Regions from separate parts of the Homo sapiens genome. Here region 2 is linked to region 1. Evidence: promoter capture Hi-C in human tissues and cell types (Jung and others, 2019). All regions are on one chromosome and are shown on one strand. The core of a region is centred on a gene start or on the middle of the fragment in contact, and the rest is flanking DNA. Distances in the headings are between cores, read along the strand shown.

What was found. The method cuts DNA at HindIII sites, captures the fragments that hold promoters and counts their contacts. A contact is called where the count stands out against the background at its distance.
Region 2: a contact is called between a fragment that was not itself captured here and the fragment with the promoter of NOL10 in region 1, in 1 of the 25 tissues and cell types used here (lymphoblastoid cells).

Annotation. Positions count from the first base shown.
Region 1 is chr2:10,687,239-10,692,205 of GRCh38, forward strand. It overlaps NOL10 (nucleolar protein 10), which reads right to left and starts at 2,737. Exons shown (of 21, transcript NM_024894.4): 1 at 2,558-2,737. The coding sequence starts at 2,623. It also overlaps the pseudogene RN7SL832P. RefSeq lists enhancers at 2,184-2,243, 2,304-2,583. The HindIII fragment of the contact is 16,217 bases long and covers 1-4,967 here.
Region 2 is chr2:10,428,489-10,433,455 of GRCh38, forward strand. It overlaps LOC124907732 (a long non-coding RNA gene), which reads right to left and starts at 4,325. Exons shown (of 2, transcript XR_007086214.1): 1 at 4,210-4,325; 2 at 3,098-3,369. RefSeq lists an enhancer at 4,131-4,967 and a silencer at 4,377-4,436. The HindIII fragment of the contact is 4,159 bases long and covers 454-4,612 here.

The DNA.
Region 1 (4,967 bases), core at 1,487-3,986:
ACCACTCCACTGGAGCTCCTTGCCAAGGTCAAGGGCGCTCTGCATCATGCCAAAGTCGATGGTCATTTTTCTGCCTTCATCTTACTGAAGCTCTCAGTAGCAGCTGACACAGGTGACCACCACCTCCTCCTTGAAACACTTACTTCTACAAAACTACACATTTCCCAGTCTCCCCTTCCATCAGTGCCCACTACTCTTTCTTCTTTGCTGGGTTCCCCTCCTCTTCTTGGATGACAAATGCTAAGACTGCCTCAGGTCCTCAGCCTAGTTATCTTCTCTGTTCTTTCTCTCACAATTTGATCTCACCTAGTCCCAAATAACGACAGTAAATTCACCTGCAATCTCCATCCTAGTATCCATGCAACTGCTAACTACTCAACATCTCCATTTGGTATGTATTAGAACTTCAAATGTTCACTATTGAAAATAAAAACCTTGGGCCGGGTGCAGTGGCTCATGCCTGTAATCCCAGCACTTTGGGAGGCCGAGGTGGGTGGATCACAAGATCAGATCGAGACCATACCGGCCAACATAGTGAAACTCCGTCTCTACTAAAAATACAAAAATTAGCTGGTGTGGTGGCACGTGCCTGTAGTCCCAGCTACTGGGGAGGCTGAGGCAGGAGAATCGCTTGAACCCGAGAGGTTGCAGTGAGCCAACATCAGGCCATTGCACGCGACCTCAAAAAAAAATCTTGATTCTTTTTGCTCACTACGTTCCTCCTCTCCACCTTTCAATGTGTTCCTTCTTGATTCTTCTCCATGTCAGTTAGCAGCACCACCGTGCACCCACTTGTTCAGACTCAAAACTGAAGAGTTCTCTGATTCCTTCCTTTTTGTCACCTCAACTTCCCTCTACCAACAGTCCAATCCATTAGCAAGTTCCATTACCCTATCTACAAAGTATGTCCTGAATCTCACTGTGTTTTAGCATCTTCTTTGTTACCAGGCAAGCCCAAGCCACCGAAGTCGCTCACCTGGACTACCTAATTCATCCCGACTTGAACCCTCCCCAGCTAGACATTTGTCGCACAGCAGCCCACACAACAGTGACTTCCAGCAGCACTAAGAATAAAACTTGAACTTCCTACCTTTCCTACCAGGCCTACCTCTCCAGCCTCATCCACCCTGCTCTCGCCCCCTCACTCAGCATAGTGCAATCACACCTGTGCCTCTTCCGTCCTCCTACATGTCCAGTGCATTCCCATGTGGGGCTTTTGCACTTTCTGTTCTCAGCACTGAAAACTCTTCCCCACATCTTCACACGACTGGCTCCTCTTCATCATCCAAGTTTCTGCTCATATGTCACCTCTTGTAGAGAGGCCTTCCCCGAAGGTTTTATCCAAAACACTTTCTCTCAATATTTTATCCAAAACAGCTCTCTTCTAATCATTCACCACGAAAAGTACTTTTTGACTACCTTAAATTGCCTTATTTGCTCACTTGTTTATTTCCCTTTTCCCCAACAGGGAACCTTATCTGAAATGTCCACTATAGATCCCAATACTTAAAACAGAGTTGCTTGCACACAGTAACTTCTCAATACATGTGGAGAATGAATGAACAAAATGAGAAAGCTCATGGGGTGTGAAGAACAACTGGAAGACAGGGAATTATTCAAACCAGAATTTTAGGAAGAAAGGAAAAACCTAAGCACTGGCTCCAAATTTTTGTAGAAGCAGACGCATGGAAGGAGAGCTATATTTATTCTGTTTTCCAAGGGCAGGACTCAGGCCAACAGTGGCATGCTATAAGGTGACATATTTGAAAACCACTTTCTAACAAGTGCAGAGTCTCAAAATGGAAATGAGCTTCCACAAAAGGTAGTGCTCAGTGGTAGTGCTTGGACAGAGGCTGGATCATCACGTATAAGAAACAAAAGACAAGTTTCAGAGCCTAAGTGTGTCATGCTGGACAAGTCACCCTTCCCCTTGCTGGATCTCAGCTGCATATTAAACGCATTATTAAATCTCAGCTGCATTACTAAACACGAGAAGATTGGAAGAGAATTACCGACTTGTCCAAGCCCTCTCCAACTTTAAGACTAGGAATCAGGTTAAGTTCAACAAGTCTCGAAAATACTGTCCTCTACACCATAAATTCTGCAGATGCGAAGTCTGTATCTCCCTTGTTCACTGTTGTATCCCTAAGACCTGGCAAATGATAGGGACTCCACAAACAGCTGATGGCCATATGGGGGAGAGATGTGTCAACGAATCTGCCACGTTTTCCTCCTCGATGTACGGCAGGGACTGTGAACACCCAAAGAGGCCCAAATGGTTGCGTTCTCTGGAACAGAGAACTTTACAAAAGTTCCAGCAAAGCTCACTGACCCTGATTATCCCTTGGTCCAGTTTCTGGCGCGGTGACGGCAGTGTCCTTGTCTCCCAATGCCGACACCTCCCCCGGAAATTGTCAGCCGCCTCTGGGCCTCCCCGAGTCGGGGGGTGACCAGCGTCCAGCTAAAACAGAGGCTAGGGCCGAGGAGAGGGGCGGCTGCCCCACGAGGAGGACGACCCCCAAGAGCTCGAGAGTGAGGGGGCCGGGAAGTGACTCACCTCAGGAAGGGACTTGCCGCAGCTGAGGCTGTAAATCTTCACCTCATTGAGGCTGGAGACCTGCATGGCGCCGCACAACACTGTTCAAGTCCCGGGTCCTTTCCCACCAGCGTGCTCGAGCACCGTAATCCCGGGACCTCCGAGCCCCTGCTCCGCGGCGTGCGGCCGCTGGCGCCGACTGATGACGCACTTCCTGGAGCCGGAACACGCGGGCAAGTTCCCGGAAGAGGGAAGGTGGCTGAATCCGGGAAGAGCGGCGGCCGGGAGAAAAACTAGTGAGGCTCTGACAACCCGGCGTGGCTGTCGGCGACGCTGCTACGGGCAAGACTAGACACAAGCCGGGCGCGGTGGCTCACGCCTGTAATCCCAGCACTTTGGGAGGCTGAGGCGGGCGGATCACCTGAGGTCGGGAGTTCGAGACCAGCCTGACCAATATGGTGAAACCCCGTCTCTACTAAAAATACAAAAAAATTAGCCTTGCGTGGTGGCCGGCATCTGTAGTCCCAGCTACACGGGAGGTTGAGGCAGGAGAATTGCTTGAACCTGGGAGGCGGAGGTTGCAGTGAGCTGAGATCGCGCCGCTGCACTCCAGCCTGGGGGACAGAGCGAGATTCCCTCTCAAAAAAAAAAAAAAAAAAAAAAAAACTAGACACAGCTCTCCCTGCTGTTAGCATCCCGAGCGGCAGGAGGAGGCTTTCGAGTCTCTGCCCAGGCCGAGATGTCATCCTCCCGGGCGGGGGCGAGGCAGTTCAGCGAGTGAACCCAGCGAATGAAGGCGACCAGGGTGCGAATTCCGAGTGGAAGTGTATTCTCTTCTCTCCTCCAGTGTTTCTGCGATGTTACGTTAGAAGTACTGTAGGCCGGGTGCGGTGGCTCACGCCTGTAATCCTAACACTTTGGGAGGCCGAGGCGGGCGGATCACCTGAGGTCAGGAGTTCAAGACCAGCCTAGCCAAGATGGTGAAACCCCGTCTCTACTAAAAATACAAAAATCAGTCGGGCCTGGTGGCGCGCGCCTGTAATCTCAGCTACTCTGAAGGCTGAGGTGGGGGAATCGCCTGAACCCGGGAGGCAGAGGTTGCCGTCAGCTGAGATCGTGCCACTGCAGTCCAGCCTGGGCAACAGAGTGAGACTCCGTCTCAAAAAAAAAAAAAAAAAAAAAAGAAGACTGTGGCGTCATCTTCAACCCATTCCTATCTCTGGCCCTCACTTTCAGTATCTAAACCTGGATATTTCTAATTATGAAATATTTCCTTAAAGTAATCTGTTTTCATTCCTCCTGCTGAAACTCAAATACTTAACTATTTTTGGATTATAACTTTCCCAAGTGATCTTCTTACTTCCTTTGATTTAATGAACAAATTATTTTATGCCTTACTTTCTAAAACCCAAATATTATTGTTTTGCTCTCCTACCCACAACATTTTGGAAACTCTCAAATACCAACACCACATTGCATCAGAATTAGGTTGAGAGTTCTTCGTGGACCCTATATCATTTGTCCTTATATTCCCTATCCACCCCATCCACCCCTACCCAGAGTACCAGAACAGTGCCTGGCCTCTATTAGGCATTGCTACATATTTACATTTAGCCATGTACGTAGGGATATATTCCTTAACTCTGTCCTCAAATTTAAGATCCTCCACAAATTTTTAATTTTCTACACTGGTTACAGTTAAGAAAAACTGTAAACATCTTTGGGAAAGGTGGCATAATAGAATGGTTAGATCACAGACTCTGGCTTGGCTTGGTGGTGCAGGCCTATTGTCCTAGCTACTAGTGAAGCCGAAGCAGGAGAATCACTTGAGCCCAGGAGTTCTTGGCTGTAGCACGCAACGAGCGTTGGGTGTCCTCAGTTTGGCATCAATATGGTGACCCCACAAGAGCCAGGGACCACCATGTTACCTAAGGAGGTGTGAAGCGGCTCAGGTCAGAAATGGAGCAAGTCAAAACTCCCATGCTCACCAGTAATGGGATCATGCCTGTGACTAACACTGTACTCCAGCTTGGGCAACACAGCAAGACCCTATCTCTTGAAAAATAAATAAAGATCACAGACTCTGAAGCCAGACTGGCAAGATTCAAATCCCGACTGCCATTTTTAACTGAAAGACCTTAGGTAAGTTACCTAACCTCTCTGTACCTGTGTAAAATGGAGATAACAGTAGTATCCACTTCACAGAGTTATGAGGATGAAATACATTCATATTTATAAAACGTTTGGAACCCAGTACTTGGCACATAGTAAGACCATGTAAGTGTTTGTAAAATAAAACTGAAAATAAAGCCATATACCAAATAAGTGGAAATGTATCCAAATTCCATTAACATTTCCTTTTTAACAGTTTTATTGAGATATAATTAACATACTGTAAAATGTCCCCATTGAATGTACAATGTAATGACTT
Region 2 (4,967 bases), core at 1,283-3,782, 260 kb before region 1:
TCATGGCCACGGCTGGCTTACGCTGGTCAAGATGGCCCTTGGCCAAGGTGGCATCTGCCTCCCCCAGAGGGCATAGGGTTGGGAAGGGGTGAGTGGAATGGAGGTTCTATTACCAGGACGGGCACTACGGCGTCTGCCCACCTGCCTGCTGCTGTCGGCTCCTCTGTGCCTCAGTGTCTTCACTGTAGGGGATGGGGGGAGCTGGGTGGCTCAAGGTCACATATGCAAAGCGCATGGCTTGGAACCTGCCTCCCAGCAGGCCTTCAGCAACAGCAGCTAATTTGTTGATTTTAGTCATTTTAATATTTTTTAAGACTCCATGTCTCTTTTAATAGAAATGGTGAGTCTGTTTGCCAAGTGCCTTCTGAGTCAATGGCACTGCTAGAGCTATTTCATAGTAAAACTCTCCATGCACCCAGAGCCACCAAGCCTTGATGGGGGAACCAGGTGGGGTGCGAGATGGAGGCCAGGTGCCCTGGGCAGATCTAGCTTGCTACAAAGAGGCAAGACGGTGCCTTTGGCAACACTGCCTCACCTGGAAGAACAGCCAGTGAACGGCTTGAATTTTATAAACATTTAACTGGGACTGGCAAAGGTTAAATCAAGAGTGCTTGTTGTGGGGAGGGCTCACTTATGATGGGGACAGAGTCCAACAGAAACAGATGGGAGTGACCACTACATTAGTCAGGGTTCTCCAGGAACAGAACTGATAGGAGACATGCATGGATGGGAGGGGTGGGTGGATGGATGGGTGGGTGGGTGGGTGGATGGATGGATGGATGGATGTATGGATGAGTGGGTGAGGGGATGGGTGGGTGAATGGATGGGTGGGTGGATGCATAGACAGGTGGATGCATGGATGGGTGGATGGATGGCTGGGTGGATGGGTTGGTGAATGGGTGGGTCGGTGGGTGGATCGATAGGTGGATGGGTGGGTCGATGGATGGGTCGGTGGGTAGATGGATGGATGGGAGTATGGGTGGATGGGTGGGTGGGTGGATGGGTCCCTAGGTGGATCGGTTGATGGATGAATGGGTGGCTGGATGGATGGATGGATGGGTGGATGGATGGTTGGGTGGGTGGGTGGATGGATGGATGGGTGGATGGGTGGGTGAATGGTTGGGTGGGTGGGTGGATGCATGCATGGGTGGGTGGGTGGGTGGGTGGATGGATGGATGGATGGATGGGTGAATGGTTGGGTGGGTGGGTAGATGCATGGATGGGTTGGTGGGTGGGTGGCTGGATGGATGGGTGGATGGGTGGGCAGGTGGGTGGATGTATGTATGTATGGATGGGTGGGTGATTGGTTGGATGGGAGGGTGGATGCATGGATGGGTGGGCGGGTGGGTGGATGGATGGATGGATGGATGGATGGATGGATGGATGAATGGGTAGGCGAATGGATGGTTAGATAGATGTATTTATCATAAGGAATTGGCTTATACGTGATTATGGAGGCTGAGAGGTCCCAAGGAGACAAGCAGCCCTGTCCCCTGTAGACAGAGGTCAGCAAGCTGGGGACCCAGGAGAGCTAATGGTGTAGTTCCAGTCTGAATCTTAAGGGAGGAGGAGGCCAATGTCCCAGCTCAAGACTGTGAGGCAAAGAACAAATTCTCAGGCTTTTGTCCTATTCAGGCCTTCAGCTGAGTGGATGAGGACCCCCACATTGGGGAGGGGGATCTGCTTTACCCCACCTGGTTCCCCCATTGGTCACCAGTTCCAATGTCAAATTCATCCAAAAGCACCCTCACAGGCACACCCAAAATAATCGGTTTGCCCAAATGTCTGGGTACCCCCTGGCCCAGTCATGTTGACACATAAAATTAACCATTATAACCACCTCTGCTCAGATATGGAGGAGGTAGATATGGGGATCCTAGTGGACCCTGCCCTACAAGGAGCTCACAGAAGCCAGTATGATTTGTCCAGGAGTCCAGTGCTCTCTGGGAAGGCAGGGAATTGAACCCCAAAGATGGTGTCCCTGTGCCAAGAAGCCCAGCCTATCAGAGGAGGAAAGAACCCAGAAGTGAACCCAAAACTGTCGTCCATGCCACCCACCCAGCAGGAGGCCTCCTCAGTCTCTTCCTTTGTCCGGGATCAGGATCTTTCAGGGCGGGTTGTTAGAAAGTGTCTCGGCTGGGTGCGGTGGCTCACGCCTGTAATCACAGCACTTTGGGAGGCCAAAGCGGGTGGATCATGAGGTCAGGAAATCGAGACCATTCTGGCTAACACGGTGAAACCCCGTCTCTACTAAAAATATAAAAAATTAGCCGGGCATGGTGGTGGGCGCCTGTAGTCCCAGCTACTCAGGAGGCTGAGGCAGGAGAATGGCGTAAACCCAGAAGTCGGAGGTTGCAGTGAGCCGAGACGGTGCCACTGCACTGTAGCCTGGGTGACAGAGACTCTGTCTCAAAAAAAAAAAAAAAAAGAAAGAAAGTGTCTCCACCTGTCCTTCCCTGGTAATTTGCAGTACTGGCCCTGGGCCTGCTTCCTCTTCCTCCAACCACCTCCTTCTGCAAGCTTCTCTCTTGTCCTGCCTTCTCCTTGCCCCAGGGGATCCCAGACCCTTTGCCATCCTGCACGGGCACTCCAAGTTGTTAAAGTTCCTTGGGAGTTGCATACAAGTGTCCCTTATCCTATAGACAGATAGAAGATCTAATCATGTACCTGCATAAGCAAGGCTTATGTGGGTGGACTCAACAGAAACTCTGGAAAATGGCTCCGGTGGCTCCATGGTCCCATCCACCAGCTGTCCTGACACTCACTGCATGGTGTCCCATGCTCACTGAGTAAATACAGGGTAATGGGAACAACTCCTGAGACAGGAAAATGTTTAGACTCGAAGGAAGGAAGCCCTGGAGTGTGGAGGGAAGGGTGGCAGTATGAGGTGTTAGTCCCAAGACAGTTCATCTAGTCAGGCCACGATGAACCCCTAGTAGGGCAAGACTGTCACCTCCCTTACTCTGAACCTTAGGCCTTAATTAATACAGCCCCAGGCATTTTCTGCTTGGGTAGACTGGCCTCCCGCGTGGGAACCAGCATTGAGCTAGCAAAACATTAGCTCCCATTTATCAAGGGTTTCCACGTACAGACACTGTTTAAAACTTTAAACGTCTAATTTAACCCTCCCATCAACCCTGCAATGTGGTATCACTACCACATTATACAGATTGATAATGCTGGTTTAAGAGAAGTTAAGTAACTAGCCTGAAATCCTTAGCAAGAGGTGGCAGAATCAGGAATTGAAAGAAGGATCAGCTCCCAAGTCCGAGGTGCGTCTTCTCCCGATTCCAGAAAGGTCTTCCAGTAGCTGGGCTGGAGCCGGGTCCATGTTTCCTTGCCAGCGGCCTCCTTCAGGGCCCCTGGTGTCTAGAGAAATGAAGGAGTTTCTCCCTGGGTCCCTGAACAAGACTTAAACGCACTGTATTTGTGGCACCCAGGCCTGACTCCCTCCCCACCCCGTGCCAGGTCACGCCCTAGTGGAGAAGGGGGCGCGCCTCCCCACCACTGCCTGAGGGGCGCCCTCCTGAGCGCCCGTTTCTCAGGGCGGGGCACTGGACTCCGAATGGAACCCTCCCCTCCTTGCCGGGCTTAGGCAGGTACGTCATTAGATCTTCTATCTGCCTCTTGAGATCAGGGGTGCGCATGAGCAGGGACCCAAAACGGGGGTCCAGTTAGGATCACAGCCCCCCAAGAGGAGACAGAACCCACAGGACCTTCAGGCTTCTGAGAGGGACCTCGTGGGCCCCGGAAAAGGTATTTAGAAAAACAGGAGTTCGGCCTTGGGTTCATCCGTGGCGTGGCCTTCCCCCAGCCGCCTTGCCCTGGGCTGGGCGCCGTTGGGAATCAAACCCACACGCCTGGGGAGCTGCCAGCCAGCGGGAGCCTCGGCCGTCGGGGAACAGACTCCGGCTTGGGGCAGCCTGGCAGCCCTGAAAGGAACAAGAAGAAAATGGAGCTGTGGGGCAGGGGCGGGGCTCGGCTCGAGAGGCAAGTGGTCCCGCGCTAGTCCCACCTGTCACCAGCCACCCAGTCCTGCCGCTCTGACCCCGCCACTGCGGCGCAGGGGCCTGGTGCCCGCTGGTCCTGGGCTCCGGCTCCGGGTCGGCAGCGATGTATCCCGGCCCAGAGTGGGGCGGGGTAGGGCAGGGCCAAGGTCAGTTTCCTTTAAGCTGGGCACGCCCTCTCCTTGGCTTGGGGCTCCCTTACTGTGGCCTGGGAAGAGGTCTCAGAGGAGAAGGGGTGATGCTGGAGACACGGTGGCGAAGGAGCACTGCGGCCTGGGCCCCGGGGGGCAGCTGTTTATCCAGCAAACACCTCCCCAGGGCCAGCGCGGGGCATGGCACAGCAGGGCACTGCCGGGGCGCAGGAGCTGCGGGGGCGGGTACAGCCTGCCTGGGGCAGGAGGCTGGGGAGGGTGGGAGGGAGCTCGGGAGGAGGGGTGACTGAGGCCAGCGGGGGCGGGCGGGGCGGCAGCCCCTGGAGGGCCCCTGGAAGGCCTCAGCTCCTCCGGCTCTTCCCAGCGGGCTGTGTGACTGTACCATGGGGCCCCGACCTGAAGGGGCCACCTGCCTCCTGCAGTTCACGGGAAGGCAGACCCTGGCCCGCCCTGGAGCCACCTGCCCACGGCCTCTTCCAGCTGCAGCCAGGCCCTCCGGGCTCGAGCGGGCTCATCCACTAGGTGTGTGTGTGTGCGTCTGTGTGTTGTCTTGGGTGTGTGTGTGGCTGGGGCATGTGGTCTTAGTGTGTGCTGTGGATGTGTGTGGTGTGTTTGGGTGTGTGGGAATGGTGTGGGGATGGTGTGACTTTGTGTGTGATGTCGAGGTGTGTGGTGTGTTTGCATGTGTGGTGGTGTGTGGGCATGGTGTGACCGTGTGTGCGATGTGTATGTGTGTGGTATGTTTGCGTGTGTGGTGGTGTGTGGGGCATGGTGTGACTTTGTGTGATGTGGATGTGTGTGGTGTATT